Linked DNA regions of Homo sapiens: region 1 is linked to region 2. Evidence: promoter capture Hi-C in 16 types of primary human blood cells and fetal thymus (Javierre and others, 2016). All regions are on one chromosome and are shown on one strand. The core of a region is centred on a gene start or on the middle of the fragment in contact, and the rest is flanking DNA. Distances in the headings are between cores, read along the strand shown.

Region 1 (6,272 bases), core at 173-2,672, 150 kb after region 2:
TAACTATGGCAATGCATGTGGTCAGGCAACATGGGAAAATATAGGAAAAGAGAAGTAAATCTCCTTAGTAAAGAGACTAATGCAGGAATTCAGCAGCAACCTAGCAGGGGCTGGGGGTAGTTGTGCAGAATGTCTTCCCTCCTCCCCAAATCAGGGGATAAAAATGGGAAGGAATTATGAAAGAATTATATTTGTGTTTGATTTAAGAGAAATTCACCTTAATCTGAAGGCTTCACATTTCTGGCCAAATACCTCAATTCAATGAACTTACAAACAGTTCATTCGAAATAGTAAAACTGTTCACTGGGCTTAGAGGAGAAATGTCTATTAAATACAGAGACAATAGAACAAAATAAACTGATTTATAATTGCTTTTGAGTTAGGTTCAAGATAATATATATTTGGTACTAAAAATCCTTATAATGCAGTTTAAAGAGAATTGTTTCAATTGGGTTTATTATTAGGCCTAATTTTTTTAGAGAAATTAGTATGTCTAATCAATCCTTCTTTCTTTCTTTTCTTTCTTTCTTTTCTTTCCCTCCCTCCCTCCCTTCCTTCCTTTTCTTTTCTCTCTCTCTCTCTTTCTTGCTCTCTCTCTCGTCTCTCTCCCTCTCCCTTTCTTTTCCCTTTGACAGGGTCTTACTCTATCACTCAGGCTAGAGTGCAGTGGCACAATCATAGCTCACGGGTCAGGCTCCAACTCCTAGGCTTAAGTGATCCTCCCACCTCAGCCTCCCAAAGCATTGGCATTACAGATGTGAGCCACCACGACTGGCCAATCTGTCCAATTTGAGGGAGTTCAGTCTCTCCAAATTTAATCTGTCGGAAGTTGAATAAAGGGACCTAGAAGAATACCCACCAGCCCTCCAGATATTCTCAGCTGGATTTCCCAGAGACACCACAAAATCACTCTTTTGGCCCAGAATTTATTCTCTTCTTCCACCCCTCCACTTCCTTTTTGTGTCCTCTGTCTTGAAGAATAACAATTCCTTAGCCCAGCTGTCCAGGACTTAGCGCAAATGCTTTCCTTTCTCAGTCTCCTCCTCCATTTCTCAGCCTCCTACTTCCTCATCTTCTTCCATGCGGGCAGTTCTTCCTATTGACCACCATGACTCTGCCTCTTCTTTCCAGCCCTTGCTTGTACTTTAGTTCTAGCTCCATCATTTACTTTCAGCATCATCCACTGCAGTAGCCTCCACCTTCATTCAGCTTCCCTGTCTCCAGTGTTCCCTTCCCCATGAATTCTTCCACACTGCTGTCATCTCCATTGGAAATTGTTAAATGGCTCTTTACTGCCACCAGAAACAAAACCAACCTCCACCTATCTACTTCCTCCTCTCACTTCCCACATACCTATTATAATCCAACCATGCTGAACTAATGGCAGTCCCCTGAATGCTGTCCAGCACTCTCCCATACAACTTTCTGCAGTGATGGAAATGTTCTATATCTCTGCTGTCCAGTATGGTAGCCACATGTGGCTATTGAGTACTTGAAATGTGACTAGCACAACACAAGACCTGGATCTTAAACTTCATTTACTTTTAACTAATTTAAATTTAAATAGTCATGCTGGGCCTGGTGGTGGTATGCCTATAATCCCAGCTACGTGGGCAGAAGTCTGAGGTGGGAGGATCCCTTGAGGCCAGAAGTTTGAGGTTGCAGTGTGCTCAGACAGTGCCTGTGAATAGCCACTGCACTCCAGCTGCCGCAATATAGCAAGACTCCATCTCTACAGAAAAAAAAAATTAGCCAAGCATGGCAGAACAGGCCTGTAGTCCCAGCTACTCAGGCAGCTGAGGCAAGAGGATCACTTGAGCTCAGGATTCAAGGCTGCAGTGACCTATGATGGCACTACAGCACTCCAGACTGGGTGACAGAGCAAGACATCTAAGATAAATAAATAGATAAAAATAAAAGTCACATGTGGCTGGTAGATACTACATTGAACTGCACAATAGTTTACATCCTTGCTTCTCAAAGCGTGGTCCATCAGCCTGGGCATTCCCTGGAAACTTGTAGTAATGCATAATCTCAGGCCTCATCCCAGATCTGCTGATTCGGAATCTATATTTCAACAAGATCCCCAGGTGATCTGTATGCACATTAAAGTTTCAAGAGCCACAGCTCTAATAAGCTCTTGCTTCCTTGCCTTTGCATGTGGTGTTCTCTTCGTCTGGGCTGCCTGTCACCTGTTCTTTTTTCCTTAACTCCTACTTATCCCTAGACCTATCTACACTCACAACCTGCTGTTAATATGGTAATCCAGAGGGTAGGGGATGAAGGATATGGGGGAGAGGAGTGAGAGGGAAGGAGAAAATATCTATGATAAAACCACTTGTATCTTGTAATCTTAAATAACTATATGTATGTAGCTATATAATATAAATACATACATACTATGTATATATTTATAGTATAGTATGTATATATGTATAGTATTCTATGTATATACATGTACAAGTATAGTTTGTGTGTGTGTGTGTGTGTGTGTGTGTGAAAATATGGTTACTACAATGTCAGTGGTATTTCTCTCAAGGTGATGGGATTTCATGTGTCTTACTTTCTAAAAATATTTTTGAGGTATCATTCAAATTCTTTACAAAGAGCATGTATTACTGATATAATAATTTTCATTACAGAAAACAAAATAAGGGCTATATTAGCCTTTTGTAAGTAACTTCAAGAACACGATATCGGAATAAAGTATAGCGTTTTACAAAAAAGGAGAGCCCCCACCTTCCACAGTTAGAGACACTCCCTTGTCTACAACACAAGAGCGGGCAGTAGGCATGGCATAGGCAACAACCAACCTGAAAGCAGAAGAATGATCTCTTGTGATGCCTCCACTGCTGTCTCCTGTGTCTACCCTCCCACCCCCACAGCAGACATGGTCCTAGCACCACGACAATCACCTCTTCTCCATCCCCTGCCTGACTCCTAGCTAGGGCTGGAGTCTGAAAAGGGGCCTTAGGTGTACAGAGAAGGTCACCTGGAATCACTAGAAGCATCTGCAGAAGTATATGGATATGTTGGGTGACTCAGATGACATCTCGTTTGGTCCTTAGCATCAAGGTTTTGTTCTATCAAATATTCTATTAAGAACGAATGTTTTCATTTTTTGGCTATTGTATTTCTTTTCTAAATTTTGGCAATTTTTTCTTTACTGAAAAAAAGATGACAATTACCTGAGAGGTTATTTTAAATTCATGGCAAAATGTGTTTTGCTGAGCTATGGGATGCAATTTCTGCAGATCTTAGTGTGCTCAGCTGTGGAAGTCAGTTATAGGGTATAGAGTTCTGGTGGTAGGGTAAGGCCCAAAAAGCCACCAGAATGAATAGAGGAGACAACATAGCCTGGAGCCAAGACATAGTTTATATTCTGCACAGTAACTAATTTGCAAAAATAACAGGATGTTGTGAAATTTGATTAAGCAGCAAGGTGAGGGAGGCATTTTGGGGGGTTAGATCAAATTATTATTATTAAGGGTATTGTACAAGTTCCAATTCAATTCTAAAGATAGAAGGAAATTTATATTCTTTATTTTAAAACAAGTTGGCTTATCTAAATAAGTAACAAACTCAGTGTTTTATTTTATTTATTTATTTATTTATTTATTTATTTATTTATTTTGAGACGTGGTCTTGCTGTGTCGCTAGAGCTGGAGTTCAGTGGCACGATCTGGGCTCACTGCAACCTCTGCCTACCAGGTTCCAGCAATTCTCATGCCTCAGCCTCCTGAGTAGCTGGGATTACAGGCGCCCGCCACCACGCCTGGCTAATTTTTGTATTTTTAGTAGAGACGAGTTTCGCCAAGTTGGCCAAGATGGTCTCAATGTCTTGACTTCGTGATCCACCTGCCTCAGCCTCCCAAAGTGCTGGGATTACAGGCATGAGCCACTGTGCCCGGCCCAAAATTCAGTGTTGCAAATCATCCTTTTGTACATGTATGATCATATTTATAATTCTATATCTATTTATCAATCTACTACTGGCAGCACCCACCTCATGTATTGGCGGCTCCAGAGGTGTCATGTGACTTGGATACCGGAATGGAGCCAGCCTTTGTGAGGTGTGAAAGCTTATACAATTTGGGTGGTCCTTCTTCTTAAAAGAAACAATGCAAAATTTTACAAAAATATGCAACCCCATGGACACATTGTTAGAGCCCCTCTTGGGCCCTAGGTGAGGCCCATGCAAATAAAGAAATTGACACCTAAACTTTACTTCAACAGTTTTAGGGTAAATCTACCTTGGCTGCTCAGATGCTCTAGAAAGGGGAATTGTTGGCTATCCTTTAATACCATCCTTAGCACAGCACAGCTAAGGAGGAAACTCCATGCTTACACAAGGGCTTCTTCCTTAATCATCAGCAACGGCCCAGTTTACTGTACACCTAGTATTTGTGCCAGGCACTGTTCTAAGCTTTTTTTTTTTTTTTTTTTTGCATTGTCTCTTTTGATTCCTCATACTAACACTGAGATATATGTACTAGATGATCTTCATTTTACAGATAGGAAACTGAGACCCAGAGATATTGAATAACTTGCCCAAGAAGAGGTACCCACTGAGTGCTGAAAAACAGGCAGAGGTGGGAATGGGTTGCCAGCTGTTGAATTCCTGGGTCTGTGCTATCTAAGAACAGTAGCAGAAAGAGAGGCCCAAGCCACCAAACTGAGATTCAACAACCTGACCTCTGCTGTGGGGTGAGCTTGTTGAAAGCAGGTAGGACTATAAGTGACCTGATAGGTCACTAGGAGAAAAATCCAGTTTCCAGAACTAGACAGAAGGTCTCAGCCAAATACGGGGAGTTGGGGGTAGGGAAGCTTGCTTCTGAGCCCCAGGAACCTCCACTATATAACATAAGATTGGTTTTAGAGATTCAGAGATGAGGGGTCAATGGGCAGAAAGGTTTCCTGACGTCCACAAACTCAAAATAAAAATTGCCATTTGTACACTCTGAGCAGCCACAAAGCTCTCTGGACAATAAAGCTGCTGAGAAGTCATCTAGGAACAGTTTAATGCCACCTTTCTCCACCCTCTTTGGGATAAATATACATCACATGCTCGTCCTCTTTTTTAGTCTTGCACACAAACACATTAATCCCAATGTCTTCTTCAGACCTGCATTTAAGTCACTTTTTTTCCCCAATGTTGGAAAGCCCTAATAACAAAACTAAACCCCCCTTAGTTCTACCCTCTCTAATTTAATTTCATTTGCGTGGTAAAAAACCAGCATATTTATCGTTGATAAATATCAGAAGAGAGCTTCAGATATCCCTGTATAAAGGGAGAGGGAAGTAGTACATGTTAATAGTGAAATGGAGTTAACCAAGAACTTGAAAACAACTTGTATTTGCAATTTATTTGTGCTTTTTAATTTCTACTTTTTGTATTTATTGATGATTATTTGTGATTTATTATTTATTCATTGCGTTTTGTTTTTGTTTTTGTTTTTGTTTTGAGAAAGAGTCTTTCTCTGTCGCGGAGACTGGAGGGCAGTGGTGCCATCTCGGCTCACTGCAAACTCTGCCTCCTGGGTTTACGCGATCGCCTGCCTCAGCCTCCCAAGTAGCTGGGATTACAGGGAGGAACCCCCACACCCAGCTAATTTTTGTATTTTTAATTGAGACGGGGTTTCACCATATTGGAAAGGCTTGTCTCAAACTCCTGACCTCAAGTGATCCGTCTGCCTCAGCCTCCCAAAGTGCTGAGATTACAGGTGTGAGCCATCGCACCTGGTCATTTATTTATTATTTACAGCCCAGTTTAGTCCAAAAAGGATTTGAGTGTAATTTACACAAATACATTACAATGAGATTTTCAAAGAACAGTGAGAAAGTTGGAGTGCAGGGAAAATATGATTAAAGTCCAGGGCTAGTACACAAAATAAAACCATGGGGAATACTTGCTGGAGGAAGGCCAAAAATTTTGCTCTGAGCTGCCTGGCAGTCAATGTAAAACATCAGAAAATAGAAAAAAAAAATGACACTCAAGAGAAACACAAATATTCCTGAAAGAAATTTCTTCCGTGGGTCTTTATAAAGAGGGTACTATAACCAACCTCCTCAATACCGATAATCTAAAGAGAATAGTTTTTTACTTGGAAAATAGGTGTGTTAAAAAAAGAAAAAAAAAGAAAAAAAATGTTTTTAATCTCTCTAGCTTTTGGGTGTCCAGGATTTTTGATGCCTAGCCAAGATGATTTGCTTGCTTGAACTCAATTAAAACAAAATGTTTTTCAAGTCCCAATTATCATTTGGCAAGAGAG
Region 2 (6,055 bases), core at 1,479-3,978:
GTAAGTCTGGGGAAGTAAAGATAGGAGCTGGAAGCATTTAAACCTGGATAACTGCCCAGTTCAGGAGGCGGGGGGAAAAACCCTAGCATGGCGCTTTTGTCTATAGAGCAACTTTCCAGTACAAAAGCGATTCCAAGTATTTGCAGACTATACCCAGAAGCTTGGTTTTTCATGCCAAAGACACACATATTAAAACTGGACTTTTAAACCACAGCAAGGAAAACACCAATTCCAACTGCATTCGGTTTGGGCTTTCCGGCTGTGTTGAATCCTTCTAAAGGAAGATTTCTGCCCCCTAGCCAAATCTCCCAAACTAAACCATGCTAAGATCGACCAACAGCCAGATACAATTGAATTGTCAGACATGTAAAAGTCTAGATGTGACTCCCCAAATTTCTCTGATCCTGCAGCATGAGGAACTTTGAGAAGAAGTGAGTGATTCCACAGCCAAGTAGGTTCCCCTTTCACCCAGAGTCTCAGAGCTTCTCACCTGAATACCTGGAGTGTCTTGAACCTGAAGAGCCAGGGTTTCACCTTCTATCTGAACTTGTCTAGTATAGAGATTACCTATGAAGGCAAATAAAAGAGATTATGTTCTTCCTTCTTGTACAACTTTTAAAACATTGTGAGTTTTAAGCTAGAAAAAAAATGCACAATGCATAAATGCACACAAAACAGCGATAGTTTATTTCTATTTGGTGGGCTTACTTCAGATTTTTTTTAAAAAACAACAGCAATTTTAACCCTATGTTAGATTTATTAAAACCAGGGCAAAGTTTGCAAGTTTTTGAAAACTTATTTATCTAGTTTTAAACAAAGTTTCCATTTTTAGAGTACTCCCTTGATGCAAATTATCTTGCTCAGCCTATGTGAGGTTTCTGTTTTCTTGAGTACTTGATTCATTCTTTGACTGTAACTTTGTATTTTGGCCGTTAGATATAATGGCTTGCTAGACAAATACTGTTAGTAAACACACAGCCAATGTTATCAGTTGGAATAAAAATGTGATATAATTATAATCAACTCTACATCAAATCAGAAGGCTGCCATGTCTTATCTTGGGATAGCTTATACAGCTCATTTCAAATAATCCCCTATAGGTACTCATATGGTCTACAGAGTTAAGCAATTTGCTAACAGAGCATAGGCAGAAAGCTCTTAAGCCTCCCCAGTGGCTATTCTTAATCATAAGGATTGAAAAATGTGTCCTCTCATTTATTCGGGAATTCTCCTCCTAAAATTCTACCATCCAGTTGTTTGTCTTTGTTAAGAAGGAGGAACTTTAGGTTTACAACTGCTCTCCTTTGGCCTTTGCTTTAAAAGGTCACCTCTGAAAGGCAGCCAGCAGAGAAGGAGAGGGGTGGGGGAAGGAGCTAGGGACTCCTTTTTTTTTTTTTTACGACTTTTGCAGGAGTGTTTTGAAGGGAGAGGTTCTTGACTACAAAGGGTGCTTCCAACTGGGGTCACTATAGTTAAAACATACCAAGGGGAATACTTTCAGGCACTTGATAAAATGATGAATGGGCTTGGAATGGAATGAGGCCAGATGGTAGTTATGGGAGGGGGGCGCCATGGAGGGCTGGGGACTGGGGAAAGTTTTAAGTGGCGGGATCCTCAGGCTCGGACTGTCACTGAAAGAACCTCCCTGGGAAGCGCTGGAAAATGGGAACCGCAGTCCTCCTGCAATGGGACAGAATTTTTCTCAAATGCATTGTCTCACCTGCATTTCTTTCATAGTCACCGATGAATCGTTTGGTGAGGAACCGGACCACCAGTGCTGCACGTCAGAAAAAAGAACGTCAAAGTGTTAACCTTGGAAGTTAGATTGTTCTCCACCCCACCCCCTGCCTGGAAAACAGTTCTCCCAAAGAAAGCCATAGATGGCCACCAAGTGAAATTCCTACCCTGTAGCTCCTTGACCCTTCTTTCCAGACAAAAAGGAGGGGGCTAGAAGGCATCGTGAATTATGGCTCTGTGCAGCTGGAAGGCTCACTGGGCCCACCCCCTCCTCTGAGCCCGGCTGAGCCACACCTAAGCCTTCCAGTAGACCCATGTCTTCCTAACCTTCAAGACCTCCCAGGGGGGCTAGCTTCACTAACTCCCCTTTCTGTGCCAGGCATTGCCAGAGGCTCAAACACCCCAAAGTTCTGATGGCGGCGGTGCCGGTGGTCCCCAGAAAGCTGCCTGGCCATTCTTGATCCTTGTTTCCCCCGTCTGTGGAAGCAGGCGGGTGGCGTAGACAACGGCTAAGCCCACTCCCAAGGGGCAGCGGCTCCCTGCGCGGGGACGGAGAGCGGTCGGGCTGCAGCTCCCACCGCTCCCCACGCCTTGTTCAGCCTCAACTCCCGTCAGGGGTCGTCCAAGACCAGACCCAGGGCTAAGCGCGACGACTCACCGGTCTTGCCCACGCCGCTGGCGCCCACCACGGCGATCTTGACCAGGCGGCGGCCGGCGGCGCCCACACAGCAGTCGGAGGCCGCGGCGTTGCCCGGCGCGGGGTACTCGGCGATGGTGCACATGTTCTGAATGAGGCGCATCGCCTCGGCTGCGGCGCACCGCGCGGGAAGGGACTGAGGGACTGGAGAATGCTAGCGCTGCGCGGGAGCGGGCGGGAGGACCCGACTGCGGGGCTCCGCGGTAAGAAATAACAACAATAAATAAGTGCAGGTACGGGCGGGGTGGGGCCGAGCGCCGAGGTTCCGCAGGGCTCAGGCTCCAGACCCAGACTGCACTCGCGCGGCGCGCCGGCTGTTTTCTCCGCGGCCGGCCCCGCCCCCTCTCCCCACAGCCAATCCCGGGGCGCCCTACACGAGGCCCCGCCCCCGGCGCCGCTCCGCGCGCGCGACGCCCCCGGAGGCGCCTGGAGTCAGTGCGGAGCCCCGTGAGGCGCGGGGAGAAGAGGCAGCGGGCGGAGGGGAGCAGCGGGTGGTCCGAGGCGGCGCAGCCCAGGGTGGGCGCCTGGTAGGTCCTGCCGCGCGAGCATGGGGCAGCTGCTGTGGCTGCGGGGCCAGGAAGAGAGCGCAGCCTCCACAGAGCCATTCCGGACCGCTGCCTCCGCCGGCTCCACAGCCCACGCGCGCACTCGCTGCAGCCCCAACCTAGGGCGTCTGCTCTGGGCGGGCCGGGAGCGGTGTTTGCTCCCCGGCTTAGTGCCGCCCGCCCTGATTTGGAGCGATTGCACTGGCTTGGGTACATCCCAGCTCATAGATTCAGCTACAGTTGGCAATCATCCGCAAAGACTCCAGCCTAAGACCTTTAGACCCCCGTAAAATGTGACATTTGAAGCAAAAATATCATCCACGTTTTATCCTAGACCCACGTTCTCTGGCTCTTGTCGACGGCGCAAGCTAACGCAAACACACATGGTCGGACGCATGCACAGCACGCCTAGAAGCGGATCAAGAAGTAATTATAGAACAAGCTTTCCAGCGCCTCACTCAGTCACACCTCCTTCAAGAGCTGTGAAATGGAAAGAAAACAGTTACTCCAGCTGCGACGTCTGAAGGGGCCCCGCACTTCGTCCCTGGTCATAAGACACCGCAAGAGTTTAGTTAAGTGGCTTGATACCAAGGAAGAGGTGGGCCCTGCACTCCTAAAATCCCAAGCTCCGGCCCCTTACAGTCTCATCTGAGAAACACATCTTCAACGGCAGGCCAAATTCCTCCTGCGAGCAACATTCTGTAGCTGCAGCTGATGGCAAGATGTCACCAGCGGCTGATGGCAAAATGTCACCAGAGTCGCGGGTTAACCACCCCATCCGCTATCCAAGGCCCTCTCCCCGCTACCCTTTCAACCTTGTCCCAGAGGCTTTTATGTTGGGGTATGGCAACAAACTCTGTGGCTTTGTGTACCCACCCACATTAAAGGCTAAAATGTGAAATAAACCAGTGCCCTTATCCGCACATGTCAGTCATCTAATTTGACCCCCTCTTCCAGCCAGAACTTAATTGACCAGGTATTTGACAGAATTTTATGATCCTCAGCCAGTTCAGACTCTGAGATGAACCTCTTGTCTACAGAGGTTTAGGTGTTTGCAGGAATGCAAGGAGAAATAGAAAGGTAATCTCAAGGTAGCAAGTTTTCTAGGATGGGCCACGTAATTAGAAAGACACACAACCTTACAATAAACATAATAAAAGGCTGACTTCTAGGGAGATCACTAGAACGAAACAGCCATTTGAGTCAGAAAGAAAAAGCATTTCCAATATGCACCATGTCTTTCTGCATGGTTTAAATCAGACTTGAATGTCACTTCTATAAAATCAAACTTTGCAAGACTGTAATTACAGGTAACCATGTACTTTTAAAATCTTTCCCCTCCAAAAAGCCTGCTATTCTATCATGCTTACATGGTAAAATAATGATGTAGGCTAAAGTACTAGTTTAACATACACACACACACACACACACACACACACACACAGAGACATGACAAAAGCTGTCAAGGGGAATTTTGCTTTGAATCATTTAGTTTCTTGGGCTTGATTTTCATTACCATAAGCCCATACAAAACCCGTGATTTTTCTGTCTGCAACGCAAAGGCTTGATTTGGTGTTCTTATTTTAGATCTAAATGATCTGGCTATGCTTTAAAGAACACAGAAAAGAGAGAAGCAAGAGAAAGATGTAAAAAAGAAAAGAGAGCTATTCAAATTCCAAATACCTAGCATATAGCCCATCTCCACTCCACCTACCTCTCCTTCTGGGACATTCATAGAGTTAAAAAGAGGAAGGAGGCAAGGCAGGAGAAGTGACGATACATAATGAGCGCTTGTTTCATTCTAGGTTGTACACAGGGGTTTTGCATTTAAAAATCTCATTTTACCTTCATAACAGTCCTATGAGGTAGGTATTACCATTACTTCTAGTTGCCGTTATCTATTGCTGCTTAGTAAACCACCCCAAACTTTAGTGGCTCGCAGTTCTGTGTGTTGACTAGGCTTAGCTGGGGAGTGCTTACCTAGGGTCTCTCATGTTGTTGCAGTCAGATGGCAGCTGGGGCTGCTATCATCTGAAGGCTCAACTAGGCTGGACATCCAAGATGGTATCTTCGTTCATATGTCTGTGTGTCAGCTGGAATGGGCAGAACAGCTGGGACTAGCTCAGGCTCTCTCACAACATGGTGACGGGCTTCCCTTTGAGTGAGCATTCTAAGAAACCAAGTAGAAGCTGCTAGTCTCTTAAGACCTACACTTGGAAATTGGCACCGCATCACTTCTGCTCTGTTCTATTGGTCAAGTGTCACAGAGCCCACCCAGATTAAAGATCAAGGGGCAGGAACATCGATCCTATCTTTAAGTGGGAATGGTGTCAAAGAATGTGTGGCCATCTGTAATTCACTACGCTTCCATTTTACAAGTGAGAAAGCAAAGTCTCGGGTTAAAAAACTCTTCCAAAGTTACATATCCTGCAAGGGACAGAGCCTTTTCTTTTTTTTTTTTTTTTTTTTTTTTTTTGTCAAGCTAAAAGAGATGAGGATGGGGAATTGAAACATGAGGAGGGGTTTGGGAAGAAAAGAAAGAAGTATTTTGCCAAGGTTCAATTTTACCTCAGCATCTGGAGTTTCTAGCACTTCCTTTGATCTTAAGAGGTTTAGCCCAGACAATTCAGTCCCTGGAAGCCCTTAGAATGCCAGAATATGAATTCAATAAATATTTATTGGATGTCTGGGCTATGTGTATACCAGACATTATGCTAGGTATTGAGTCTACAGTGGCAAATAAGAAATGCAACCTTTGCCATCCCTGCAGCTACATTTAGCATGAGAGACTGAAGTGAATGAGCAATTTCAATACAGTGTGAGAAAACACTTTGATAGGGAAAATTCAGGAATTACAGAAGCACAAACTAGGACTAAAAACCTGGGTTGTGGCAGTCAAGGAGGGGGTGGTGAAGGAGTTGAGAAGTTTGTGTGTTGTGTACAGTGTGCATGTATGTGTGTGCATGTACATGGGAGTATGGAGCAGGGAGTTAGGAGGGGGCAAGATGGGTTAGTTCGCAAGAGAATAGCACTTGCCAATAGGTGCTCAGTAAATAGTTGTGGATTATAAATGAAA

Evidence for each region. The method cuts DNA at HindIII sites, captures the fragments that hold promoters and counts their contacts. A CHiCAGO score of 5 or more calls a contact.
Region 1: a contact is called between a fragment that was not itself captured here and the fragment with the promoter of RASL11B in region 2, in 1 of 17 cell types (fetal thymus). The highest score is 6.3, in fetal thymus.

What each region holds. Positions count from the first base shown.
Region 1 is chr4:52,704,465-52,710,736 of GRCh38, reverse strand. No RefSeq gene overlaps it. Among named protein-coding and RNA genes, the nearest start is that of DANCR, 4.8 kb to the left of the region's middle. The HindIII fragment of the contact is 5,324 bases long and covers 1-4,084 here.
Region 2 is chr4:52,858,990-52,865,044 of GRCh38, reverse strand. RASL11B (RAS like family 11 member B) reads right to left here and starts at 2,728. Exons shown (of 4, transcript NM_023940.3): 1 at 2,396-2,728; 2 at 1,721-1,777; 3 at 491-567. The coding sequence starts at 2,537. It overlaps LOC124900700 (a long non-coding RNA gene), which reads left to right and starts at 2,840. Exons shown (of 2, transcript XR_007058115.1): 1 at 2,840-2,961; 2 at 3,314-3,896. RefSeq lists silencers at 2,409-2,703, 2,675-3,164. The HindIII fragment of the contact is 3,261 bases long and covers 163-3,423 here.